Regions from separate parts of the Homo sapiens genome. Here all the other regions are linked to region 2. Evidence: promoter capture Hi-C in 16 types of primary human blood cells and fetal thymus (Javierre and others, 2016). All regions are on one chromosome and are shown on one strand. Each heading gives the region's core, a stretch centred on a gene start or on the middle of the fragment in contact. The rest is flanking DNA. Distances are from core to core; before and after follow the strand shown. Region 1 overlaps SEC24B (SEC24 homolog B, COPII component). Region 2 holds the start of OSTC (oligosaccharyltransferase complex non-catalytic subunit). Region 3 has its middle 29 kb from the start of SEC24B. Region 4 overlaps LEF1 (lymphoid enhancer binding factor 1). Region 5 overlaps LOC107986298 (a long non-coding RNA gene). Region 6 overlaps PAPSS1 (3'-phosphoadenosine 5'-phosphosulfate synthase 1). Region 7 overlaps SEC24B (SEC24 homolog B, COPII component).

Region 1 (4,249 bases), core at 1,491-3,990, 790 kb after region 2:
TGGTATCCAAGAAGGATAATTGATGTTGTAGCAGGAATAATCTATACTTAATGCAGTGAGATTTAATCCAGTTGTTTACATAGCCTGTGTCTGTAGGCTCTGTCCGCCAGCGGTGACTGGAACAGTTACCTTCATCCTCAGGTATATTTGCAGTTTATGGAATGTAGGAGAGAAAGAATACAAGAAAACATTTCTCTCAGAGCTTGGGAAGAAGCTCTATAACTGTTATCCTTGCATTATGATAACCTAGGATATCCAGATGTAATCTGAGACTCCTCATTTTTGAAATCACCAAGGTTTGTAATTGCCTATTGCCTTAGGGGTGTGTGGGTGTGCAAGCATGCACATTTTTTATGCCCATTAAAAATCTGTATTTTGGCATTGTTAGTGATACCTTATTGGCAGGGAGAGTATATTAAAATATTCAGTAATCAGTACTGTGTATACTGACCACTAAATGGATACCATCCTTCATACCAGAGCAGGATCCTATAAGCTTTCAGCTGTGCCAGGCATTACTCCTTCAGCTGCGGATTATGAGAAGGTTTGGGCTAGCATGGTGGGGTAAAGCAGGGGAATAGGACCATGGCTATGACTCATTACCAACTGATTCAGAGCTATTTTAACATTTTAACAAAGATAATTGTTAAAATGAATACCTGGGTGCATACTGACTGAATATTGGCCTATTTCTTTGTAATTGAGTGATGAATGAATTCAGTGATTACATTCTTCGATCTGATTCTACCTCAAAGTTAGTATGAATTTATCTTAGTAGGATAAAGGAACTTGTACTTTGCTGACCTTGATGTTTGTGTTCAGATAATGGAAACTGAAATCTGACTTTGATCTGACTGAAAAAAAAAGTTGGAATTCAATTCAGGAAAATATTAATGAAACAACTATTTTTAATATTAAAATGTGTCTCAGGGAGGGGGAATGATCATGCTATTATGGAAATCTCAGGAGTAGTCAAATTAGAGATGTGGTTTTTGTTTTCTCTCTTCATTTTTTTCTTTTTAAACAATAATTGTAGTATGGTGGAAATCATGACTGTTACAATCTTATTCAGGTAACTTGCTTTATTTTTGTGTTTTCCTGTATGTTTATATTACTCATTTATCAATTTTGCACATTTTTACTAGGTTTGGTAACCTTTTTATGTCAAATGTTTTTTTCCCTATAAAATGGCTGTATTGTAATATTAGAATAATCCAATGTTGATGCTTTATTTTCCTTGAAGTTTCTCCAACTTTATATTTATGGTAATATCTCTTAAGTGAGCTCTCAGTACCAGTTAGTCCTGTGGTATTTCCCTGCTCCATTCCCAGTGTCACATGCTCCCCTTTTCCCTCAAATTCTCAGTATCCTGTCTCTCTGCCTCCCTTTCCAATGGTGACCTTACTTATTTTACTAAGAAATTGAAAGCAATCTGACAATCTGAAGATAAAGTATTAATCTTCTGCCACCAAATCTGTCAGTCTTCCTGCATATTATTCTTGTGTTATCTGAGACAAATTCAGATTATTTGGGTACAGAATTCTGTTCCCTCTCTTTTAAGAACTTTGTCCCTCCGATTATCTCATTTACCATCAATTTTGATCTTAAACACCTGAACCTTATTTTATGCAATGCATATGTAATCCTAACAGTTATATATAACTTTTATTTTAGAGACGAGATCTCACTGTGTTGCCTGGGATGGTCTCAAACTCCTAGGCTCAAGTGACCCTCCAACCTCTGCCTCCCAGAGTGCTGGGATTACAGGCATGAACCACCATGCCTGGCCTATAAATTTAATTTACAATTCCTAGCAAATATTTATGTAGCTCCTCTTTACATAACATTTTGTGCTAGATACTCTGGGCATACAAATGTGAATGTTCTCTGCACTCCAGGAGTTCTGTACCCCTCAGTAAAAGAGGAGAGGACTGTCAGCACTGAACATGTGTTTCCTTCATAAGGCCTGTGAGAAGGGTGCCCAGAGTTTTGAAGAGGAAACAATTCTTTTTGGTTAAAGTAATAGGGAATCTTAAGGGAGGAAGTTAGAACTTCAGCTATATCTAAAATGATGGACACATTTTGAATTGTCAGGTAAAAATGCATGAATCAAAGGTAAGGAATTTAAAAAACGTACTCTGAGCAGTGCAGGGGTACAAGGGAGAGAGAGTAATGAAAGAATGGTTTGGGCCCGGTGTGGTGGCTCATGCCTGTAATCCCAGCACTTTGGGAGGCTGAGGTGGGTGGATCACCTGAGGTCAGGAGTTCGAGACCAGCCTGGCCAACGTGGTAAAAACCCATCTCTACTAAAAATACAAAACTAGCTGGGTGTAGTGGCGAGTGCATGTAATCCCAGCTATTTGGGAGGCTGTGGCTGGAGAATTGTTGGAACCCGGGAGGTGGAGGTTGCAGTGAACCGTGATCATGCCATCGCCTGGGCAACAAGAGCTAAACTCCATCTCAAAAAAAAAAAAAAAAAAGAATAGTTTTTACAATTATGTTGGGGCTGCTAATGGAAGTTCCTAGAAATTGTCCTAAGAAGTTTAGACTTCATTTGGATCAAAGAAGAGCCATTAAAGATTGTGTGGTAAGGAATGTTAAAAAGTACTCTGGTGGTGTTAGTAATGAATTAGAGGGAAGTGAAAGTAGAATAAAGGGAAGTCAGGTAGAGAATTTTTCAAACCAAATCGTATTTCATATGCCCTAAAGAGATCCTGTGATTTTTTTTTTTTTTTTTTTTTGGTACAGGGACTAGACTTGCATGAAATATTTGTTTTATAAATTTTAATTTTCATGTTAGGTTTTCTTAAAGCAAGAGAATCAGTTTTCCTTTGGTGAGAATCTGGTGTCTGAAAGGAGGTTATGCTACTGAGACAGATATGTCCTGGGGGTAGATCTTGTGATAATTTAGTCCTGCTAAGGAGGGCATACATGCTTATAGAAAATCATAGGCTGTATCTTGCTGGCACATGATATATCAGTCAGGCTGACCAGCTGAGCAGCTCCATTGAAAATATTATAGACCATTTGTTAAAAATATTTTATTTCTTCATTCAGATTGGTACCAGTGAGTAGATAATGTGTCAGAATCATCTGTTTCCCTCTTTTATTTGACATAGTTCACTTGAAGCTAAGAATATAAAATTCTTTCAGAGATTATATAAAAACTGAATTTTTTTGTTTTGTTTGTTTTTGTTTTGACACAGGGTCTCACTCTGTCACCCAAGCTGGAGCGATCACTGCTCACTGCAACCTCGATCTCCTGGGGTCAGGTGATCCTCCCACCTCAGCCTCTTGAGTAGCTGGGACTACAGGTGTGCGCCACTACACCTATCTAATTTTATGTAATTTTTGTAGAGATGGAGTTTCACTCTGTTGTCCAGGCTGGTCTTGAACTCCTGGACTCAAGCAGTCTGCTGCCTCAGCCTCCCAAAGTGCTGGGATTACAAGCACGTCTGGCCATTTTTTTAGTTTTTTCTTTCTTTCTTTGTTTTTTTTTTTTTTTTTTTGAGACGGAGTCTTGTTCTGTCGCCCAGACTGGAGTGCAGTGGTGCAATCTCGGCTCACTGCAAGCTCCGCCTCCCAGCTTCACACCATTCTCCTGCCTCAGCCTCCCAAGCAGCTGGGACAACAGGCGCCCGCCACCACGCCCAGCTAATTTTTTTTTTTTTTTTTTGGATTTTTAGTAGAGATGGTGTTTCACTGTGTTAGCCAGGATGGTCTCGATCTGACCTCGTGATCCGCCCGTCTCAGCCTCCCAAAGTGCTGGGATTACAGGCGTGAGCCACGGCACCCAGCCTGTTATTTTTATTATTTTATTTTATTTATTTTTTTGAGACAGGGTCTCACTCTGTCACCCAGGCTGGAGTGCAGTGGTGCAATCTTGGCTCACTGCGGCCTCAATCTCCTGGGCTGAAGCAAGCCTAGCACCTCAGCCTCCCAAGTTACTGGGACTACAGGCACAAACCACCACACCTGCGTAATTTTTTATTTCATGTTTGTAGAGATGAAGTCTTACTATGTTGCCTGGGCTGGTCTCAAACTCCTGGACTCAAGCAATCCCCCTGCCTCAGCCTCCCAAAGTGCTGGGATCACAGGTGTGAGCCACCGCACCCAGCCTGTTTTAGTTTTTCAGTGATTATTTGATGCTTATGTAAGGCATTGTATTGGGCAATTTGGGGAGTGCAATAATCAAATTAATTTATTCTAAGATGCTTTTTTTTTTTTTTTTTACATTTTTTACCTCTGA
Region 2 (4,252 bases), core at 1,141-3,640:
ATTATTAACATTTGCTTTTATATGTAGCTTAAGATGACAGCTCTACTGCATATTATATTGTAAACTGTGTTTCTCTCAACATTTTTCCTTCTTCATCTATAAATAGAAAACCACTGAATGATTGATTATATGTTTATTTAAGGGCATGCTCTAATGCCCACTGCTATATTCATTATTTCTTTGGTTTTCAGTTACAGAGTTTATGTTATGTTTAAATAGAACATTTTTCTGTAGGAATTGTGGGTTAGGACATGGATGATAACAGATATGCATATCTTACTCATGAAAGGTCTCTTTTATACGTGGCTTATAGAATATTACAAACTCATGTTGAAAAATATTTCAAAGCTTAAGAGGTTAAAAAATAATAATGAATTGGTTCCTGGAGCAAACTTACTTTTTGGAAAGTGATAGTAATAATTTAACATATAGATGAATGCAGTGTGTTCTGACTTGGCAGTTTTATTATTTATGAAATTAATTTTTCATTTAAAAATTATATATTAATAATTTATATGTTTTCCACAATGTAGGTAGAAATTATGTGTCCCTAGTATACACAGGAAGAAGGATAAGTATATAAACGTATACCATTTTAAACGTCTTAAATCTATTTACTTCTACAGCAATTGCCTTTTAGGTCTCATCCAGTCACAGACTATACTACACTTTTTGAGTTTATTTCCCTTCCCAGGAGCCACTTTTGTCATATGTAAAGCAGTTATACTAGTATTTACCTAACAGAATTGTCATGAAGAGTATATAAGCACAAATGTAAATCACTTAACATAGTACCTGCCAAGCAGTGGTTAATTAATGTTAGATTCCTTTTTAAGCTATAAAGGAAATTTAAAAACCTTTAATCCCTATGTTTTTCCAAAGCAAAATGTTTTATTTTTATTTTTTTCTTCATACCAAAGCAAAATATTTTAATTGTTCCAAAGTGTTCCTTACTTATAAAACTGTGGGAATTTCAGAAACATTCTGCTTTACAGTGCCCAGAGAAACTTCCTACATATAAACGCTGGTTTTGGTGTAAATGCATTCATTATTGGTGTTATCATTGGCCTTTACATAACCTAAGATTCGTGTGGCTCCGTTAAGACATAGGCAATATGACTCTGGGAGAGACTCTCACTAATGAACAGTAAGGGCAGCAAGCCTCAACTGTACTTAGAATTGGATACTACAATGTTTTGATAGTATTTTCATTACCGTCTTCAAGCAATTTCTTAACAATTGAGTTGTTAGCTAATTAGAAGTGCAGAACCAATACATGGCATCCTGTAAAAATAACCACGGGCTTAGTAACAAGCAAATAAAAAAATATAAAAACATTGGCTCTATAATGTGTCAATATGCTCTGGACTTATGTAATCAGTGACTCTTAACTCTTGCTCCAAAAGGAAGTTAACATTTGTAGAGTCTTAAAAGATTATATAAAAAAGAAAAGCAAAACAGAAAACAAAAAATCTTTTAGACCTTCTAGTCCATCCCTAATGACTAATTCTCCATCATATATTTTCATCTATTTGGATTGTAAATGTTGCCCAGACCAGAGATGGCGGTGGTTCACACTAGGGTGTCAGTGGTGGAATGGTGAGGGGCAGATGAATTGGAGATATTTTGGTAGTACAGCCAAAGAGACCTACTAATATTTTGGATGCAGAAGGTTAGTAAGGAGAGAAATCCAGACGACTTTAAGATTTTTGGCCAGAGGGATTTTACCTTTTAGCGACATACAGATGACCAAGGGAAGAGCAAAGTTGAGAGGATGAGTTATTCAAAATAGTATTATGGTCACGCCAAGCTATCAGCATTAAGGCATCCCTGTAGAGATGTCCTGTTGACATTTGTGATCCAGGCTGGATGTTTAAAAAAAATTGGTAACATATTACTTTAGCAACTATTATTAATTCTTATTATTACCACGACTACATCGGGAAGTAAAAGCTCAGCAGCCTCCGGCTTTTCCTAACCCTTGAAAAAACCTCTAATATAAAAGGCATTTATATCCAAAAGTTCCCATTCATCTCCCGCTCTGGGAACCGGGAGCGCCCCCTGTCCAATCAGCTTTCAAATCCCCTGCGTCAGCGAGTGGGCGGGGCTCACCTAGATTCCTTGGCCTCCGCTTCTCCGGCTTGGCCACGTTAGAAGTCCCGCAGGTCCTTGAAGGTACACAAATCACCTATATATCCATTAGAAAAATGTAGAGTACATTATCACAATGTAAGTTTAATTAGATTAAATAATTTACAACACTTTATTCATATCATTTATTTGTTTTATTTAGTTTCTTATTTTCTTCTATGAGTATAGTAACCACCTCCGAGCTTTACGGATCTGCGGGTCCTTTCCTCGCGCACGCGCACTTGTTAGGGAGGGCGGGCCTGTTTCCGGGAGGCGCGTGGGGCTTGAGGCCGAGAACGGCCCTTGCTGCCACCAACATGGAGACTTTGTACCGTGTCCCGTTCTTAGTGCTCGAATGTCCCAACCTGAAGCTGAAGAAGCCGCCCTGGTTGCACATGCCGTCGGCCATGACTGTGTATGCTCTGGTGGTGGTGTCTTACTTCCTCATCACCGGAGGTAACTCGGGCTGTCGGGCCCGAGAGGCTGAGGAGCGGAGAACTGACCCGCCCCGGGAGGCGCGTCTGTTCCGCTGACTCTCAGCCCCGGGGGAAGCATAGCTCTGCTTTGGATCTTTTCTGAGGGTGGAGGGGAGTTCTGGGGTCCGAAGTGTTAACGTCCAAGTTTATTCGCCTTCACGCCCTGTCTTAAGAGAATTCGTGTTCTCACTCCCATTGCCTTTCTTCTCCTTCTAGCCCTCCCATCCCAGGGATCCGAGTCAAATATATTTTTCAAGGCCAAATTGTTGCTCTTTTTGTTGCTTGCCATACGTTGTTTGATAAATGTCCTGGGAAAGCCTAATTTGGCAAACTCCGTTTCCATGGTTGGTTGTTTGATAAAGGTCCTGGGAAGGTCTAATTTGGCCAACTCCGCTTCCATGGTTGGTCAAGAGCTTGTGGGACTTTTAAACTTATCTTTGTCCTGGAATCTTGGAAGAGACTTGACAATCTTTAGTTTTGTTGGCTCAAACCTAGGGTTCTGTGTTGCCTTTTGCATGACCTACAATAAATATCAATGGAATTTTCTGAAATCACAGGTTTGATAAATATTTGAGATTGGAGATGAGATTTGCAGACGATACTGTATTTCAGTGGGCAGAAGTTGAGAATTAAAAAAATAAGATAAATAGCATTACTATTAAACGCTTCTGAATTGTCTATCATCTTATTCTGTCCTTTTCAAATAGAAAATTGCAAAGGGGCGTTGCCTTATGTACTGGTGAGTTGGCAATCCGGCTAGTCTTTTCAGAGCCACTACCCTTTCAGGCCACAGTTCCAAGATTTACTTAGAACTGTGCTACTGTGTACATTTAGATTTGGGGAAGTGGTGTACTTAACTTGGAAATTATAAAATTAATTTAGATTTTGGGAAGTGGTGTACTTAACCTGGAAATTATAAAATTAAAGCTACGGATTTGGGATAGCAAAAGTAGTTCTACTTTTAAGGGAGTGGCCATATAATTGTTATTTTCATAGATGTTTTGTGAGAATAGTTGGCACTGAAGGGGGAGGATTCAAACTGAGAGAGCTGAGTTCTAGAAAGCACCTTTGAATTTACCTCCTTCCCCCAATCTAGAATAGTGAGAATTAACTTACGTTCATTTAAATAAATTACATTTAAATATTTGAGTTACATTTAAATACTTATTTGGTAACAAGATACTATCTAGCATTGCATTAGCATTAACCATTAACATTTGCTCATCAAGTTAATAGCTACTGTACTGAATAAACAAAATTTAAAATGCATGTGGCTTTTAAAAATAATAGACTTTTAAAAATAAATAATATAGAATAATTCAGTATTATTATTGAGTGCTCGCTTCGGCAGCACATATACTAAAATTGGAATGATAGGGAGAAGATTACCATGGCCCCTGTGCAAGAATGACTCGCAAATTCGTGAAGCGTTCCATATTTTTGCACAGTTCACGAAGGTCGTTGGACAAAAAAAAAGTCATTATTCAATAATAATAATGAATAATGCTAGTTTCTTTCCTGTAACCCTTACTTCCCTTGGAGTCGGATTCTTTGCGAGAAGCCTCAGTTTTCTTTGTGGCCCTCTTTTTTCTCCTGTTGATTATTGTAATGGGGAGATTCTTTGTCCCAACCATTGGGGGAAAGTG
Region 3 (3,702 bases), core at 826-3,325, 750 kb after region 2:
TTAAAGAATGTATAGCAGTTACACAAGTAAAGAAGGAAGGAAAAAGTATTCAAGGTGGTGAAATCACAATTAATAAAGGCATAAAGGAATAAAACATCATGGTGTATGTAGAATACTAGCACAGAACCAAACACAAGGTTGGGCCCCGTGGTTCACGCCTGTAATCCCAGCACTTTGGGAGGCCAAGGCAGGAGGATCACTTGAGGCCAGGAGTTCGACAACAGCCTGAGCAACACAGCAAAACCTTGTCTCTACAAATATTTTTTTTAAAAAAACTAGCTGGGTGTGGTGGCATGTGCTGTGGTCCTAGCTCCTCAAGAGGCTGAGGCAGAGGATCGCTTGAGCCCCAGCAGTCAAGGCTGCAGTGAGCTGTGATCATGCCACTGCGCTACAGCCTGGGTGACAATAATGCTTATTGACATGGACCTGGCATATCTAGTGAGACTAGAGATCATAGATGAAATTGGAAAGTATTATGCAGCTATTGGTTATCTGAATGTTGGGTTTATTGTCATGAAACAGCAGAGTCAGGAAACAAGGTGTTGGCCAGGCGCGGTGGCTCACACCTGTAATCCCAACACTCTGGGAGGCCGAGACGGGCGAATCACTTGAGGTCAGGAGTTTGAGACCAGCCTGGCCAACATGGCAAAACTCCATCTCTACTAAAAATACAAAAATTAGCCAGGCATTGTGGCACACGCCTGTAATCCCAGCTACCCAGGAGGCTGAGGCAGGAGAATTGCTTGAACCCGGGAGACGGAGATTGCAATGAGCCAAGATCTCACCACTGCACTCCAGCCTGGGTGACAGAGTGAGACTCCAGAAAAAAAAAAAGAAAGAAGGAAGGAAGGAGAGAAAGAGAGAGAGAGAGAGGAAAGAAAGAAAGAAAGAAAGAAAGAAAGAAAGAAAGAAAGAAAGAAAGAAAGAAAGAAAGAGAAGGAAGAAAGAGAGAGAAGGAAGGAGGGAAAGAAGGAAGGAAGGAAAGAAGGAAGGAAGGAAGGAAAGAAAGAAAGAAGAAAGAAGGAAAGAAAGAAAGAAAGAAAGAAAGAAAGAAAGAAAGAAAGAAAGAAAGAAAGAGAAAGAAAGAAAGAAAGAAAAGAAAGCAAGAAAGCTAAAAACTGTATTCTGCAGTAGAAGTTAAGGATCTAGAAAGTTTAGGAAACAACCAAGATGGTAAGTTCCTTAAGATCTTAAATGTAAACTGGTAGAAGTCTCCTACCAGTGGACTTCTACACTCAGTCTTAGGAATAGTCTGGATGGCTCACAGTTCACAAATTTGTTTACTAAGGTTGAATTTAGCCCTGGCTTATATTTCATTTATTTAATTCAGCAATGTTTATCATCATTTATTCATTTGCCAGTTGATTCTACAAAAAATTTTAAGCACCTATTTATATAGACACTGTTGACATAAAACAGTCTTTGTGGTGTCTATAGTCCAATGAGAGAGGCAGATGCTAAAGAAATATAGGCACAATTAATACATAAAAGGCATTTTTATGTGGCACACAGTCCATACCATATGACCCAACCAGAAGGTTCAAGTATTTCAGTACAATTTAGGTCAACTTCAATATTAAAAATACTTCCTAAGTACAATAGTAATTTTTAGTGCATATTATAAACAAGGGCCAAGAAAAAAAAACCCTAATTTGATCTTTATATTTGTTAGTTCTTAATGAAAATACTAATTGCTCTTTACCCATTTCTGTGAAACTCTAAATTTTTATTTGTGATGAGTCCAGGTCTATTGGATAGACTTTCAGCATTAGTAAAATGACAGAACATATTACAGGGAAAGTATAAGAACATACAGATTCATTTTCTTTTAAGCTTGGAAACAGGATTCTTTGACTCAAATAGGGCTTCTGTTTGGTGAATTAATGGGTCACCATAACCAAATAATTGTAAGTCACAATTTAACTGAAAACCAGAGAGTAAAAATAGCAAAGACTAAACATATAACATCCTTCTTTCTTCATCTTTGCTTCTGAAAGGTGTGTCTTTCCTGAACTATGAATCACTGCCACAGACTTTGCAAATTTGTTCCATAAGAGGGAAGTACCAGAGCAGCAGTAATGTTCTCATCGCGGGCTTCGCTGCTTCGGAGGGAAGAGGGGCACAGCCTATATAGTTTGGATAACTCTCATTCCCCACAGGTCGCATAAAATGGAAACTGTTAAAACATAAATATTCTGCATTGTTTCACATTACCTTTACACAATAACTGTGACGACTATACTAATAGCAGGCATGATCTTATTGCTTCCTTTCCTTCTTAAACTTGAGTCTTGGGTATCATCATAATCAACATTCTAAAGCTTCCAACATCTCAATCCTAAAAAGTAAATGAAAGCATGGTCCATAAAATTTACAGCTTATGTTTAGTATTTTGGCAACTATTGCTACTCCATAGGCCTGAAAGTAAAATAAATAGGGCTTGAATTTTGAGTCGAAATCAAAATTAAGGTTTTCTTTTTCTTTTATGACTTGGCTTGCTACAGAATTCTGATTGCTACAGAAAAAATTCTGAAAAATATTTGGTAAAATTCTGATTGCTAAAAAATTTTTATGAAATTCCCAGATTAATAATTGTTATTTTAGCCAAAAGTTTTTCAACATTGTTAAAATATAGCATTGGCTAAAGTCTCTCTCTCTATGTGTATGTGTGTGTGTGTATGTATATATAGATGCACACAGACTTTATTTATAATTTTTGCATGCCCTAAAATTTCCGTTTATGTATTCTTTCTGATTGTTTTTCCAAAAAATTAACACCCACATTGACTTATTAGCTTCTCTCCTAAGATAATTTTCTCTCCATATATGAAACAAAGTTGAAAAAAAATAGCTTCTTTTACATCATATAGTAATAATTTCAGTATCACATATTTTCTTCTTTGTCTTCCCAATAACAATTGCTTGAACAATGATGATAATGAATTTGTGGGTGAAATTATTATTACTTTGTGCTTCTTTACCCTCTTTTGTGTAATTAAGGGTACAGTGTACTTCTTTACCTTCTTTTGTGTAATTCAGGGTACAGTGTACTGTTTTACCCTCCTTGTGTAATTCAGGTACAGCAGCACCACATAGTGGACATTTTGGTACTTCTCCGTGAAGAATCATTTCGCTTACCTTCAAAGCAATTGGTTTGCTTTAAGGAATGCAATTTGTGTGGATATTGCTGATGATTATCTCTCTTAATATTGCTCTGGTGAGCCAACATGTGAAGTTACAGATTTCACCTAATATAAGAACAATAATCAGCCTCACAGTCATTGTGAAAAGATAAAAGAGAAGTATTTTAAAATAAGTGTGAAGATACATATAAGTCTGTGCTTCAAATTTACTATGTAATACTAATTATTTCCTAATGTATACTTTGTAAGGGAAGCAAAGCCAATGCTTAGATTTTAGTAATAATAATTCTCAGAGTAAGCCATTCATCCTCATCCATATTCCTATATATCTATAGAAAGAGGCCTAATAGAGGTAATTGTTGCTGTTGTGATTAAATCAAGGCACAAAGAAAAAAATAATGTATGCTATCCCAGGAGTTGATATGTAAATCCAGTTAGCAAAGAGAAAAATTATGCTAATATTAACATTGTCATTTTTTTTGCCACAGTAAGTCTGGATTTGTCAGACATCAATTAAAATCAGGGTGTGAGCAAGGATTTTACACATTCATGGAGAAAC
Region 4 (4,080 bases), core at 868-3,367, 600 kb before region 2:
GTTAGTTAATCCCCTAACCACAAAGCTCTAAAGCAAAAAGATTCCCAGAAGCTGGAGGTGGGAGGAAAGGGGTCATTGCCACTCCTGGATTCATGTTCTACCAAGGCAAGGCTTCCTCTCCTGTGGCTATTCAGAGTGAATTACCATCAGCTCAACCAGACTTTGGCAATGTCAAGATGACTTTGAGACAAGCCTGTGACCGTTAATGAATTACTCCAGGGGAATTTTTCTGTAGCTACTGGTTTCTCTTCCTGATCAGCCTAGCCCTCTGTGTTTGTCTCCTCTGTGAGGACATGTGTCCTATTGGTAGGCCAGACCTCCTGGTGCAGGTCATGACCGCTAGATCCTTCCTACCACGGGAAACATGGGAGAAATGGTCTTGAGCAAGTTTTGAAGGAGAGAGCCTCAAAAGCCCATTGTAGTTCTGTCAGCTGAAGTGCTTCCAGAGGGTAATAACTAGCTAGGTAGACCTCCCTCATCTACTCACCTCCAAACGCTATCCAATCCACATTTCTCTCAACAGACGTTCTCTCACACTAAAGATGTTAAGTTCACCTTCTACAAATGAGGTGACAGGATCAGGGCACACTTTGGTCTTTTTTTGTTTTGTTTACCCAAACCAAGCCCTTCCACAGTTATGCCAGCATTTGTGTGTGCACCTGTGCATCTGGTTAAGCACAGGGAGGTGATAACTTGTATGGGTTAGAGTGTGGGCTCTAAGGACTGACAGTCCTGGGTTGGGTTTGGATCCTGGGTCCATCGGTTACCACCTGGAAATCTCGGGCATGCACTCTGAACGTACCAAACCTGTTTCCTCATCTGTAAAGTGAAGATAAGAAGCTGCTCTACCTCATCAGGTGCGCTGCGGGATGTGGGAGACGTATGTGCAGAGCCGGGCGAGTGCAGGGCAGACGCCCTGAAGCAGCGTAGTGAGTGCAGTAACAGCAGAGGATGGAGAACTGGGGCTCAGAGCTGATGGTAATTCACTCTGCAGACGCAGCGCTGCTACTCGCCAGCTGCATGGCCCTGGACAAGTGATTATTTTCTCATCCTTCAGACAGAACTGAAATCTGTCCCCTCCACCCCACAATGGGGCTGCTACAGAACGAGAGGAGGCAACACATGCAGAAGCATCTGTTAAAGCCTCTGGAATGTGGCAGGTGGTCCATACAGGTTGGGACCATTTCTGCTGTTCCAACTTCACACGACACATTCGGGGCAGCAAGCAAGATTCATACTATTACAGAACTTCTGGTAGAAAATTAAGACCAACAGGGTATTCTGCCAATTAATTAAAATATCTCTTATGAAACAGAATGCTTCTAAAAGCATGATGCTAGCTGAGAAAAACTAATCCCAATACAAAAAAAAAGTTAGATTCACAAAAACGATATATAGGCAGTTAGAAAAATTTAGTGTAGAGATTGATGTAAACCTTATGCCAAAAAGTGAGTTTAATTTTTAATGCTTTTAATTTTTCTTTCATTCTGTCAAAAAGAATAAAGTTACTTTGCTAAAGGTCACAGACAGCTATGAGCAGCAGGATTTCCCACTCATCTGGCTCTCAGTAACATGGTAGCTTCATTTATGAAGAACACTGCTGAGGAAAAACACGTTAAAACTATCTCAAGGTATCACAGTAATGTCATGAAATTTATGTGCAAAAATAGCACATTTTAGCCTTTCTTAAAATAGCACATTTTAGCCTTTCTCTATACCCCAAATCAGACCCCATTTACTTTTAATTTACATATTATTCAATTAAGCTTCATTTTCCTGGTTCCTAAATCCACACAGATCAGAAGAAACATATTATTGTGGGTACAGGGTATAGTCCCAAACAGCAAAGGAAGCCACAAAAGAATTATTAAAAAGCAGTTTCTTAAAATTCCATGTTATTTGGGGTCATTTAGAATAGTATTATACAAATCACCATACTCCTTGTGGCATATATAATATTCACTGTAAAATAATGGCATGAGGTATTCGTATTCAAATCAATTTCAATGTACTCTGCTGAAGAAGACAGAGTTGCATCCAAAAGTGCTTTGAAAAATTACATGTTTTGACACTTAAAGATGTAAACCATATAGCTTCTCTGAAAAACTCCATTATCCAGAAGGGCTCATTTCCACACAGTTCCTCACAACTCAGTAACAAACAGTTCTATTAAACAAAATTTATCCAAAATACTTCTTTTTTATTCTATATTCTAGTGCATTGATCTTAATTCCATTTGGTAAGTTTTCATGAACAATACTAAACATGAAGCATTTCAAGAGGGTTTTAATGAACCTCATATACTCCTCTCCCTCTGCTATTATTTTTTAATGGCATCAGATCAGTCTTGCTACCTGAGGGTCTATTTCTCTATTTCTGCTCCCCAAGGCAACTTAAACACAATTCTAGCTCTTCTGATCATTAAGGAGAGAAAAGATAATTGATGGAAGGGATACTGCCCATTCTTAAAAGCTTTCACTGTACCCATGAACCCAACCCAATTTCTTTATTAACACAGAGCTGTCTAGATAAAACCACCCCAACTATCAGCTTCCTAGTGAGCTATAGCGGACATCTGTCGGGCTGCTGTCCAGCTCTCCTCTCCATTATCCCAACTCCAACACTGTTAGAGCAGTGAGCTCCTGACAGCCATTTTGTACAATGTGACCTTCTCCTCTGGCCACAGCTGATTATAGATTGGGGTGGAAGTTTGACCCAAGTTGGGCTAACCAGAGTCGCTTCTACAGAATTTGAAAGAATTATTGTCTCTTTGGGAGATGATATTGTAACAACATATAGCTTGAGTGCTCTAAACATAAGGCTCAGAGAACTGAGAGAGTCAATCTGGGAAGGGAAGGAGGAAGTGATTTTCAGGGAGGGACAGATGGAAGCAGCAGGGAAAGTGTCTGGACAGCTTTCCAATTTCCAGTTTTCTTTTTGGCCCAACTGCTCTACTGTCCTTGGATTCCACAAGATGCTCCTATATCCTTAAAACACATTTCCCCTTTCTCCTTAAGTGAGCACCATTTGTTTCCGGCACTTGCCATCAAAAGGCTCCCATGAATGCACCTAGGGATCCTGGAACAATGGCCAGGATGTGAAAAACTGCAGTCCACGCATAACTGAGTCTAACCACACTGTCATTATGCTGCCATTGCTATTTAAGACAATGAAACCAAGCCTGAGATTATCTGTAGTCAAGTGTCATCACCTTGTGAATCCTGTACACATTTCCTGTTAGTCTGTGACAGGTGTCACAGGGATTTCTGAACACAAGCATAAAAAGAAGGAAGACACAGGTAGGCCGTCACCTCAGACTGGAGCATTCCCAGAAACGACACATATGGGAGCCTCTCCGGGCCACCACAACCTCCACCTCCTATGCAGCGATCTGGCAATCCATGCAAGATAAACAGCACGCCAGCAGTCGCTTCCACAGGACCTCACCACTGTGGTAAAATGGCAGCACAAGGTACCCCCAACTGGGCTAGGCCACTATTCAAAAAAAAAAAAAAAAAACCACTGCAGGCCAAGTGTGGGACAGTGCTGAGCAGGGTGCAGAAGTTTTCCCAGGAGGTGCCGACCTGTGGCCAAGGGTAGCTGCGCAGCCACGTGTTGCCCTGGCTGCCGTGCGACACTTGGTTCTCCCCAGTTTGACATCCCCCTTCCCCTCCCTAGATGCAGGCTTCCTTCCCAAGAGTTCTGAACCCCCAGGGGTCTTTTGCTTGTTTGGTAACAATTCTAGCTGAGGTGCTTTCTAAATATGTTACAAAAGATAAAGAATGGAAAACAGGATGTCATTTTTTCACTTTCTAGTTGTTGAAGCCTTAATTTTTACCCTGAGACTTGGACAAGACTTAAGAGTTCTTCAGCTGCCTCCAATTTCCTTTCAATTTTATTAATTTTTAAGAATCTGGCTTTGTTTTCTAACTAAACATAACCCAGCAGCTCACTGATATTTAATGTTGGTGACTACATTGTGGAACAGAATTTGGAACAAACATTAGGCAAAAGTGTCAAACTTACCAGAGTGAGCTTCAAAAATCATAGGAAATAAATATTTTTCTCATTGAGACCACT
Region 5 (4,023 bases), core at 663-3,162, 680 kb before region 2:
CTGCACTCCAGCCTGGGCAACAGAGCAAGACTCTATCTCAAAAAAAAAAAAAGTTACATTGGTTGTTAAATAATTTTCCCTGGGGGCCTGGGATTAATGTAATACCATTTAGCTGTATATCTGTATATGCTGTATATTCTTTCTGCCCTATTAATAAGAAACGTAATTGTAGGAAAAACAATAAAGGCTTGCTCCTCTCAGGAAACATCTGACCAGGTACACAAAGATAAGTTGGAGACAGAAACTCCTAAGGGACCACAACTCAAGCCTGTGGTGGGAGTTACTGCATGAAATGGCATTGTTTTTAAATAGCCATAAATTTCAAGCTATTCACTTATTCATTCAAAAAATATGTTGAATGGTTAGTATATGCCAACACTGTTAAAATCTTTAAGATGAAGAATTTTCCCTAAATGCACCTCAGTATAACTCTGAACATAGTGAAACTACCTTTGCAGAATTGTTAAGTAATGAGAGAAATCTAACATGACTGACTGTCTTGCTTTTAACCTCAACCTCACAGGCTCTTCTCTTTTCCTCTCCTCTTTTTCTTTTCTCTTTTTTCTTTCTTTTTGTTGTTGTTTATTCTAGCATGGAGGCCAAGATAATATGAAGGGAATTTAGTTTATAGTTAAACTTTGAAGCAAGGAAAACTGAATCCCCTCTTGCTGGAGACTAATGCTGCATTCATAACACAAGATTAGAATTATGGTTGGGGCTTGAACCTTGCTAAAGAATAAGCATGGTTAAACAATAACCTACTGCTGCTTAGCTTGCTTTTCTATACATTGCTTTCTGCTCCAAAGTCACATGAGAGGTCATAAGATTTGTAACTCCCCAGCTACTCCTATAGATAACATAACTATTGTGAAACCTAAAGAACTGGTCTTTAAGATATTTTTCAGATTTAGCATTTCAACAAAGAGATACCACTTGGTTCTGAGAACACCCTTTCCCCCTTCCCTGGGAAGACTTAGCTGTGTGAAGACAATTTAGACACCTCTGTGATTTCATCTTCAGCCAATCAATTGTTTCAGTTTCCCCACTACCTGCCTACCAATTTACCCTTAAAAACTTTACCCTCTGAATTATTGGAGAGACAGATTTGAGAAATTTCTCCCATTCCCCTCATTTGTCTGGCCCCACAATAATTAAACTCTTTCTTTGCTGCAATACTTGCTGTTCTCAGTGCATTGGTTTTTCTGAGCAGCAGGCAAGAAGAACCTGTCAGTCTATGACAACGATGGGACAATGAGGACTGAACCAGGAGTGTGGCACACTTCAGACCCAAGTCCTGCCCCTGCTTATAACTAGCTATGTGATCTCTTTGGTCTGTTTCTTCATCTATCAAAGATTAGAAAGATGATCTCTCAGATCTCTGTGTAGCTTTATTATTCCATTGTTACACCCTCCCTGCTGAGCATCTTGGCTGTGTCTGTAAACTAATAATCTAATGTCTCCGTTGTCCCCCAACTGCCATTTCCTCTGAAGCTCTCAGATGTAAGGAGTTAAAAAGTCTCTGGGTAACTCTCTCCTCTCTGCCTTTCTGCTACTTACCTACAGTGGCATGTCCAGGAGTAAATATAGATGGTGGAAAGAGGACTGCACTGGAAAACAAGGCACCTGGGCTGGAGCCCTGGTTCTGCAACTGCCTCTCTGTGTAACTTTTGGTAAGCACTCAACTTTCTTGGGCCTTAATTTTCCCTGCTGCCACAGACTAGAGTTCTTCTAGATCCATGGTTCTCATCTATGGCAGTATTTTAGAACCACTTGGGGTGTTTGATAAAAATACTGATGCCTAGATTTCACCCCAGGCCAATTAAATCAGAACCTTACCAGGGTTAGGCCTGAGCAGAAATAATTGCAAAAAGTGGCCAACGCTAAATAAAATTTATTTGTAAAAGCAAAGGGCCAAGAATAGTCAAAACAATCATGGTAGCAGATGTCAAGACTCCTTATAAAACTACAATAAGCAAGGCAGGGTAGCACTGGCACGAAGACAAATAGACCAATAGACCTACACACATAAGAGCACCTGATTTGTCACAAAGATGCCCCTGCAGTATGCTGGGGGAAAGAGTGGAAATTTCAATAAATGGTGCATATTAACTGCCTATCAGTAAAGGAATAAATGAACCCTGACTCCCTATCTCACACCATGTCTTAAAAACAATTCCTGACGGGTGATAGACCTACAAGTGAAAAGTAAAACACAGCATAGAAAATAACATAAAAATAACACAGAAAAGTCTCTTTACCATCTTGGGCTTGTGTGGTAGCCAGAGTCCAAGATGGCCCCTGATGATTCTTTATATGGTTCCCTCCCACACTGAATAACACTGACTTGTATAACCACTAGGCTATTGCAGAAATGATGTGCAGCTTTTGAAGCTAGGTCATAAAAAAACATTGTGGTTCCTGCCTTGCTCTTTTGGGTCACTTGCTCCAAGGGAAGCCAGCTGCTGTCACATGAGGACACACAAGCAGCCCTGTGGAGATGCTTACGTGACAAGGCACCAAGGCCTCCTGCTAACAGCCAGTAAGAATATGGTACATCCTGTCAACAGCCATGTACCATATGTGAGCAAGCCATCTCGAAAACAGACATTCCTGTTCCTGTCGAGCCTTTAGATGATTGCAGACTTAGACAACATTTTGACTATAGTTTCATGAAGAACCATTAGCTACAGCCACCCAGCTAAGTCACCCCTGATTCCTTGATCAAAACAAAGTGTGAGATTTTTTTTTTCTTTTTTTGACCACAAAGCTGTGGTAATTTGTCACACAGTAATATGGTTTGGCTGTGTCCCCACCCAAATCTCATCTTGAACTGTAGTTCCCATAATCCCCACGTGTCATGGGATGGACCTGGTGGGAGGTAACTGAATCATGGGGGCAGTTACCCCATGCTGTTCTCATGATAGTGAGTTCTCACAAGATCTCATGGTTTTATAAGGGGCTTTCCCCCCTTTTCTTGGCACTTCTCTTTCCTGCTGCCTTGTGAGGAAAGCGCCTTGCTTCCCCTTCACCTTCTGCCATGATTGTAAGTTTCCTGAGGCCTCCCCAGCCATCTGGAACTGTGAATCAATTAAACCTCTTTTCTTTATAAATTACCCAGTCTCAATTATTTCTTCATAGCAGCGGGAGAACAGACTAATACACAGGGTAATAGAGAACTAATGCATACTTCACTCAGCTGCCAGATTACTCTCTTTAAGGTACGGTTGTGCCCAGACCTTGGTTTCTAATACCATTTCCACTCAGAGGAACCAGAGCTTCTAAATGAAAATGGCTGTTTCTGGAGCTAGGTCAGAAGAGGTACAAGATGAGCCTTGTTATGTCCAAAAATCAGGAAGTGAGAAGATGGTGAGGAATCAAGAAGTGAGAAGATAGTGGGGAAATGTCACAAAGGAACCATCTTGGAGAGATTCCCACTGGCCAAATCTGGTTCAATTGGAAAATCAAAATAATTAAATAAATACAGTAATGAATTATATACCTTTGGAAAGACTAAGAATTCATGAGTACATATTGAAAATAAGTCTCTGAGTTGGTTCGGTGACCAGGGTCATACTTCCCAATACTTCACTCTTTCCACACAGAGAAATGAAGCACAACTCCAATAACAGGGTGAGGGTGCAAGTCAGGGACCACAGAAGTCACTACTGGGCTCCTGAAAGCCCAAGGCCACATTTGGGAAACGATCTGCACTTCTGGCAAAAGTGCAAGAGGGGCAGTGGTGGCCCCAGAAGAAATATTTTAATAAAGAAGATACACGAATGGCTAATAAGCACATAAAAATGCTCAACATCATTAGTAATTAGGGAAGAGAATTAAGTGTACCTTTTCACACACACTAGGATGGCTATAACAGATAAACAGAAAATAACAAGTGTTGGTGAAGATGTGGAGAAAAAGGAACTCATATATTGCTGGTGGTTATAAAATTTGTGTAGTCATTTTGGAAACAGTTTTGTAGTTTCTCAAAAAGTTAAACACAAAACTACCCAAGAGAAATGAAAA
Region 6 (3,863 bases), core at 1,331-3,830, 930 kb before region 2:
GGCACATGCCACCATGCGTGGCTAATTTTTTTCATATTTTTAGTAGAGACGAGGTTTCACCATGTTGGCCAGGCTAGTTGATACATGTTGTAACATGGATGACGCTTGAAAACATTATCCTAGGTGACAAAAGCCAGATACAAAAAGCCATAGATTATATAATTTCATTTCTAGGAAAGCCCACAATAGCATAACCCATAGAGACAGAAAGTACATTATTGGTTGTCAGGGGCTAGGAGAAAATGCAGAGCCTGGGGAATGACTACTAATGGGTATAAGGTTTCTTTTTGGGGACATGTAAATGTTCTAAAATTAGATTCTGGTGATGGCTGTACAACTCTGGCTATACTAAAAACCACTGAATTGTACACTTAAAAATATGAAAGACAGGCCAGGCATGGTGACCCACGCCTGTAATCCCAGCACTTTGGGAGGTCGAGGTGGGCAGATCACGAGGTCAAGAGATCGAGACCATCCTGACCAACATGGTAAAATCTCATCTCTACTAAAAATACAAAAATTAGCTGGGCATGTTGGTGCACACCTGTAGTCCCAGCTACTCGGGAGGCTGAGGCAGGAGAATCACTTGAACCAGTGAGGTGGAGGTTGCCGTGAGCCAAGGTCATACCACTGCACTCTAGTCTGGCAACAGAGCAAGACTCTGTCTCAAACAAAAAAAAAAAAGAAAAAAAAATATGAAAGACAAAGACAGAGGTAAGGTATGCAAGCACCAAAGTAACTAGAGAGAAGAATAAGAGAAAACAGCCTGCACAATGGCTGCATTCATCCAAAGACAGATACTGAATTTCTCTACATAATGTCTGGTATTTCCACCATCATTATTCAGTTAAAATTTAACAACTGTGTCTTTAGGAAAAGATATGTCACAGAAACGATTACCACCGACAAGATTTCTCTCCTTGATCAAACTAGGCAGGCTCCTTCTGAACCCTCTTTCAACTGGGCCCTATCCTCGGGCACGTCTTCAAGAGTCCAATTTTAGCAGAAATCCCCCATCCTCCATAGCTGACCAAACTCTTCAAGCTGCACCATCCCCCAATGATGTCTGATCACCTTGGCCTGCCTGCCTTCAGCAAGAACCCTGTTAAATCGTTTTAGTCAGAATACTCCCTAATTCTTAATGTTTCCTCTTAGTAATTTTCCATCCACCGACCCCCACCCTGCTCCCTCACCATAAATTCCCACTTTTCCTTACTGTATTTGGAACTGAGCCCAATCTCTCTCCCCTACGGCAAAACTCCACTGCAGAAGTCTCTATAGCCACTGCAATAGTCTCCCTGAGAACATTCTCTCTACTACCGCTTAACACCAAAAAGAAAAATCACTCCCTCCATTTGAACTAATTACTTAATCTGATTTCAAAACAATTCAGGATTGGGGTTTTCCTGTCTTGTTACTGGTATGCTATGAGTAACTGATCCATCTCAGAGTAAGAAATGGCAACTTCCAGGCTGATGGGGGAAAAAAATGCCACAACAATTGGATTTTTCAACTGGATTTTACATTTGCATTTCAGATTTAAGAATTTTTTTTAGAAATTTAGGTTTTTTTAAGAAATCTTTTCCAATAGATGTTAGAAGAATTATCCCCCTCCATACGCAAGTAGAATAGCCAAAATTGTCTCCAGAATTGCCAAATGCCCCCTAGGGCTGGTAAAATCTCACGATTGAGAACCACTGGCATAGAGAACTACTCCTCAAAATTCAATGTAACACACCCAGGCTGGGAAGCATATTGACACTTCAAATCTGAAGAAGCAACTACGCTAAGGGGAGGCTAATACTGCTGGACATGCTACCAGAAGCCAGGGTGCAAAACTGCCCAAAACTAAAATTTCAAAGTATCCACTCACTCTGGAAATTTCCTGTTCTTGGGAACAGAGTAAAAATACCTGAATACATAAACACACAGATAAGTAGAAAAAAAAAATAGCAGCCATCACAAAGCTTCATCTAGATCTGCAATGTCCAATAGAGCTTCCTGAGATGATGAAAATGTTCTATACTGTGCTGTCCAATTCCTGTGGCCACTAACCACATACGCAGCTCTTGAAACGTGGTTACTGCAACTAACAAATAGAATTTTTTACTTTCTTAATGTTCATTAAATTTCAGTTGCCACAAGTGGATCGTGAACCGGACAACACAGATCTAGACCTCACTATCATTCGTCTTATTGCTGTTATTGGTAGAAGTTTAAGCTTCCCTTTTCATCAGGCAATTTTTTTAGTATCATCTTCCCAGGGTAGAAAGATCAATTCTCTGTTAAACCTGGGGATGGGGGAAATAAAAGACCAATGCCTGCCCCTGACCACACCCAGGCCAATCCTCTGAAGGACAAGTACATTGGCCTCTTGTTTGGCTGTCTGTTCCACTTCTCTGTTCTTATTTCATTTTTGTATCATCTGAGTATTCAGCTAAATCCAGAATGTGCTGCTGGCCTTCTACGAAAAACATCCACATATAAGGAGACAAGCTGTTTGGGAAAGATAGAATTGGTAAAAGGGAAAATTATTTCATTCATTTATTTGGTTTAATTAACTGTCTCCCAGGTAGAATGTAATATCCATGAAACAGGACACTTTTCTGTCTTTTTACCACTGCATCCTCAGGACCTGGAACAAAGGCACATACAAAGTTTAAGTGTTAAATATTTGAGGAGCTAATAAATAATTAGAACAAGAATAGTACTCATGTGCCAGGAACCATAGTTTTATAAATATATTAACTTCTTTAAACCTCACTATAACCCCATATGGTATGCACCATTAGCCTCACTATGAGTTATGTTTTATTATCTCATTACAGATGAGGATATTGAGAGATGAAGGAGTTAAATAATGTTCCCAAGATCACCCAGATGGTAAGTGACAAAACCGTAATCTGAATCCTCCCACATATGGAGCTTATTCCGTTACTTAAGCTTTTGTAAGATACTAATGAATTATCTAAGGATTTCAATATCAGAGCTACCGAGCTACTTTGCATCTGCCCCTTATCCCCAATTCTGTTATATCAGGAAAAGCTCAGTGTAGATACAAAACATCTATAATGAAGTATGATCACAAGATACATAATAGCAGAGAGAATGCAACATAATGCAGAAGAGCACAAACAATTCAGCCCACGAGCAAGTGAACATATGTACCTATGAGGGCCACACATTTGTTAAGGTAAAATGGTCCAAGGCTCTAAACATTTCAGCCCCTGACAAAGGGTAACAGGCATCCCAGGGAGAAGGAAAGGCTTGTGTAAAACCATGAGGATGTATGATATGGACAGAAAGTTGGGCTGGAGCTATGGAAATTCAGGGAGTTGTGAAAGGTGAATGGAAAAGCAAACCAGAGACTGCATATGCTTCTTAATGTCACGTCCAGTTTCAAACGCTTCTTTTAGGACACTACTCCACTGTAAGGCAGGTCCAACAGGGTTTCAGCCCAATATGATTCTACAAAATGGGTGAATGACACCTGGGCCTGAACTGAGTGTCCCAAATTTCCCTCAGCCCAACTAACACATCCCCAAGGGCAGATGAAAACTGGTCCCATTGGAGAAAGATTCAATTGGATAGAAAATGATATTCATTATATCTGACGCTTTATCAGACTGAAGTAAGAGGCAGCTCCAAGAGCAAGTCAATTTCTTGGTTTTTCTTTACTATTCCCACAGGTATATGGACAACTTTAACTTCCTGTAATTCTAACCATTTCCCAGAGCTGTAAGACTACATTTTCCCATCTCTTTGCCTATTGTCTCCCACGAGTACACTTCCTTTACCTAATCCTTAACAGGAGCTATTATCCAAAGCTTAGTATTTGGTCTCACATTTACTTTCCTTATATT
Region 7 (3,684 bases), core at 66-2,565, 860 kb after region 2:
ATGGCAAATATGGAGGTCCTGAAGCAGGAACAAGCTTTTTGTGTTCAAGGAACAACACTAAGGCTGGAATAAATAGATATCTCTACATGATATTAACGACTCTTCATAAAATTTCTTGCCTGGCTTTCAGTACTTCTGCTTTTTACTGCTTTGGCATCTCCTTTATTCATTCTTTGTTTATTGACTTTAAAACTTCATAAGTTATTTGGCCAGGCACAGTGGCTCACGCCTGTAATCCTAGCACTTTGGAAGGCCGAGGCAGGCGGATGGATCACAAGGTCAGGAGATCGAGACCATCCTGGCTAACATGGTGAAACCCCGTCTCTACTAAAAATACAAAAAATTAGCTGGGCATGGTGGCAAGCGCCTGTAGTCCCAGCTACTCAGGAGGCTGAGGCAGGAGAATGGCGTGAACCCAGGAGGCGGAGCTTGCAGTGAGCCGAGATCGGGCTGCTGCACTCCAGCCTGGGCGACAGAGCAAGACTCCATCTCAGAAAAAAAAAAAAAAAAAAAAAAAAGTAGGCCTTTTCACTTATGTTTTCTGTGTGCTCCTATTCATCTCCTTCAGGCTAGTCATAATGGAGTAGTTGGTCTTCCCTGAATGTGTACTATTTTTCCACCATGAAAGTGTTGACTCTTTAATTTAGATTTTTTGACATATATTGCATACATGCCTAATTAATCAGGACCTTCTTGCTTACAGTTACAGTAACATGCCCAAATGATTTTCACTTATGTCCTTAAATGTTCTTAGTTATCTTATCTACTTCAGTGTATTTTTCTCTGATAGCTAATATCCTCCATGTTGTTTATGTTTTTTGCAGTTCATTTCGGTGTACTTTGACAAATATTCCACAGACACAGGCTTTACTGAATAAAGCTAAGCTTCCTTTAGGATTGTTGTTACATCCCTTCAGAGACCTAACGGTAAAGTAACATTTTATAATATTTATGGGTACTGACATGTATGCTTATGTACAAGGTACTTAAATTTTATATTTTCTTAGAATTTTCTATATCTTCTTTTATTTGAAGTTAGAAATAATCATTTCCATAACAACTTGGCAAACATTTTTTGAACACCTGCTTTGTGACAAGCTCTAAACTAAGCACTGGTAGTACAGAGATGATCAAGTCATTGAAGTTGCCTCCAAAAAGTTCTTATCTAACAGGGAACAAAGATGTAAAAATAATTACAGTGCAGGATAATTAATACATGTAATTAATCAAATTCTATGAGATACTTAGGTAGTGAGTACAGTATGAGAAGTGATTCCCTGTGGATACAATAGCAAAAGTTTTCTATAAGTGTTGAAGTCTGTCCTGGATTTTGAAAGATTAGTAGTTTTGGAAGGTGGAATGGCCCTGGAAGGTAGATACACTTTCGGAGTTCTTTATTAAACACAAAGGAAACACCAACAGTGATGTCCACTTAGAGAGGAAAACTGCCTGTTCCTTAACAAATTAAACAAATTTGTTAATTCAACAAATAACCTTTGTAACAGTAGGGATTTTTAAACTTGTAAAGTTTTAAAAGTTTTAAATTTTGAAAACTTCAAAAATAATTTTATTCAGGGCTGTTTTATTTGTACTTCATAAGTTGCATTTCTGTCTCAAACTTTTTTTTACTACTGTTGTTTACTACCCTTCTTACTGGTTCTGAGTTTTCTTTTGCTGTCATTCATCCAAAAAATATTGATTGACTACCTGTCACGTTGGAAGCTGGAGATACAAAGGGTAAATTAAAAGCTTCCTTGTGAAGCTTACTTTACTACCAGGAAGTATAGAAAAGATCAAAATGAATAGAAAATAAAAAATTGTAATATGTGATAAGTACCGTGAATTTATTCATTGGGTAAATATTTTTAATCACCTATAATACTCTGAAAACCTTATCTATAAACCAAGACAGTTAATTTCATATATATATGAAATTGTATACTATATATATGTATATATATGAGAGAGTTTTTCTCTAAATACAGATATACATGATACCTTCTGGAAGCATGTATACTAAATTGTTTACAGTGACATCTTCTGTGATATAGAGTTCTGTAATTTTTTATTTTCTCATTCTCAGTTAACTATATTTCCTGATTTTTTTTTACAACAGATATGTGGTTACTTGCATAATAATAATCATATATGTGAAAAAATTAAATACAAAGATCAAAATGTTCATGTGCAGATAGAAAAAAACAGAATGATATACTAAAATGATAGCAGGTTAATTCAGAGACATAGAATAATATGTGATCTCTTAATCTTTTTTCATATTTTCTAAAGTTTCTACTTGAATATAAAATTCATTTCCCAAACTAAGCATAGAGATGTAATTTTTTTTAAAGGCACGTTGTGTTTGACTGCTTCTGGCCTCAGCTCCTGTCAGAAGTTGCTGTGGCAGTCTAATGAGCAGTGCCTAATAGTCTAGTACCACGTGCAGTCAACAAAGACAAAGGTATTTGTATATGGTATGTTTCTCTCTCACTGTTATTTCTAAAGTTAAACTGATAAGATCTCACTTACATTATTTTCTTGGCCAATGTTTGTTATGACTTTATTTTAGTGTTATGATTTGTGACAAGAGGGAGAAAACTTGATGGCTACATGTGTTGCTCAACATGTCCCTGGATTTTATTAATATGCTTCCATATAAAACCACATAAAAACAATTAAGGTTTATGTTCTGTATTTGGAGCAGATCTGTGTACGTTCTGTTTTTCCTTGGGGTGCCTTTTTCTGCTACAGCTTCTTTATTTTATTTCCTAGCAATTACCAGTGATAACATCAAATACCATTGTGAGGTGCCGATCCTGTCGAACGTATATTAACCCCTTTGTATCCTTCATTGATCAACGTAGATGGAAATGCAATTTGTGCTATAGAGTAAACGATGGTGAGTTTTAGATTCTTAATTGTGTTTTAATCCTATTTTCAGGTTTTTTTTTTTGAGATTTTTGTCATCTCCTGGTTTCTCTCTTCATTGCTTTAAAAAGAATTTTCATGCCATTTTTAGTAGAGGGAATATAGGCTAAGGCTAGGACTAGGGATTCTTCATTTTGGCTGACCAAGGGGATAATTGACAATGAGGAGAGTAACAGTGAGGACAAAGTAAGAAAAATAGAAACAGTGACACTCATGCAGGTGAGCTTATGCAGACTAGTTATGCTTGTCCCTGACAGTAAGATTGTCTTACATTTGTATATTTGGTTCATTCAACTCAGGTAGAACTTTGCCAGTGTATCTGGATGCATGCATGTATATATGTCTGTCTCTTGTTCCCTTTATTCATTTCTTCGGGTTCCCCTACTAGAGTTGCTTTCAAATTTATGTTTCTCTGTCTGATTTTTTTCCATGTCATTTGATATAATAAATAGGATACAAGTCTAAGAAGGAAGGTTACTTGCATCCTGGTTTTCTCACCTGATTTCAGAACATAAGTTTTTTTATCCTTCTGATCTATTTTTTTTTTTTAATTTTTTTTTTGAGACAGGGTCTCGCTCTGTCACCCAGGCTGGAGTGCAGTTGCACAATATGGCTCACTGCAATCTCTGCTTTCCAGGTTCAAGCTATAAGTTTTTCTCATGCCTCAGCCTCCCAAGTAGCTGAGACTACAGGCTTGCACCACCACACCTGGCTAATTTTTGTATTTTTGGTAGAAATGGGGTCTCGCTATGTTGG

The links. The method cuts DNA at HindIII sites, captures the fragments that hold promoters and counts their contacts. A CHiCAGO score of 5 or more calls a contact.
Region 1: a fragment that was not itself captured here is called in contact with the fragment with the promoter of OSTC in region 2 in 1 of 17 cell types (monocytes); the score reaches 5.0 in monocytes.
Region 3: a contact is called between a fragment that was not itself captured here and the fragment with the promoter of OSTC in region 2, in 1 of 17 cell types (fetal thymus). The highest score is 7.4, in fetal thymus.
Region 4: a fragment that was not itself captured here is called in contact with the fragment with the promoter of OSTC in region 2 in 5 of 17 cell types (fetal thymus, naive CD4 T cells, total CD4 T cells and 2 more); the score reaches 11.2 in fetal thymus.
Region 5: a fragment that was not itself captured here is called in contact with the fragment with the promoter of OSTC in region 2 in 2 of 17 cell types (naive CD4 T cells and total CD4 T cells); the score reaches 5.8 in naive CD4 T cells.
Region 6: a fragment that was not itself captured here is called in contact with the fragment with the promoter of OSTC in region 2 in 1 of 17 cell types (total B cells); the score reaches 7.7 in total B cells.
Region 7: a contact is called between a fragment that was not itself captured here and the fragment with the promoter of OSTC in region 2, in 1 of 17 cell types (total CD8 T cells). The highest score is 6.7, in total CD8 T cells.

Annotation. Positions count from the first base shown.
Region 1 is chr4:109,441,753-109,446,001 of GRCh38, forward strand. All of the region lies in intron 1 of SEC24B (SEC24 homolog B, COPII component), which reads left to right. Among named protein-coding and RNA genes, the nearest start is that of SEC24B-AS1, 10 kb to the left of the region's middle. The HindIII fragment of the contact is 4,493 bases long and covers 495-4,249 here.
Region 2 is chr4:108,648,209-108,652,460 of GRCh38, forward strand. It overlaps OSTC (oligosaccharyltransferase complex non-catalytic subunit), which reads left to right and starts at 2,391. Exons shown (of 4, transcript NM_021227.4): 1 at 2,391-2,586. The coding sequence starts at 2,448. It also overlaps the pseudogene RNU6-431P. RefSeq lists enhancers at 2,331-2,680, 3,295-3,344. The HindIII fragment of the contact is 4,127 bases long and covers 347-4,252 here.
Region 3 is chr4:109,403,436-109,407,137 of GRCh38, forward strand. No RefSeq gene overlaps it. Among named protein-coding and RNA genes, the nearest start is that of SEC24B, 29 kb to the right of the region's middle. The HindIII fragment of the contact is 488 bases long and covers 1,832-2,319 here.
Region 4 is chr4:108,053,406-108,057,485 of GRCh38, forward strand. All of the region lies in intron 11 of LEF1 (lymphoid enhancer binding factor 1), which reads right to left. Among named protein-coding and RNA genes, the nearest start is that of HADH, 66 kb to the left of the region's middle. RefSeq lists an enhancer at 3,070-3,571. The HindIII fragment of the contact is 706 bases long and covers 1,765-2,470 here.
Region 5 is chr4:107,971,992-107,976,014 of GRCh38, forward strand. All of the region lies in intron 1 of LOC107986298 (a long non-coding RNA gene), which reads right to left. Among named protein-coding and RNA genes, the nearest start is that of HADH, 16 kb to the right of the region's middle. The HindIII fragment of the contact is 8,609 bases long and covers 1-4,023 here.
Region 6 is chr4:107,713,089-107,716,951 of GRCh38, forward strand. The region is part of intron 1 of PAPSS1 (3'-phosphoadenosine 5'-phosphosulfate synthase 1); the gene reads right to left. Among named protein-coding and RNA genes, the nearest start is that of PAPSS1, 5.2 kb to the right of the region's middle. The HindIII fragment of the contact is 722 bases long and covers 2,220-2,941 here.
Region 7 is chr4:109,509,185-109,512,868 of GRCh38, forward strand. SEC24B (SEC24 homolog B, COPII component) reads left to right here. Exons shown (of 24, transcript NM_006323.5): 8 at 825-927; 9 at 2,773-2,899. Among named protein-coding and RNA genes, the nearest start is that of MIR576, 22 kb to the left of the region's middle. The HindIII fragment of the contact is 864 bases long and covers 884-1,747 here.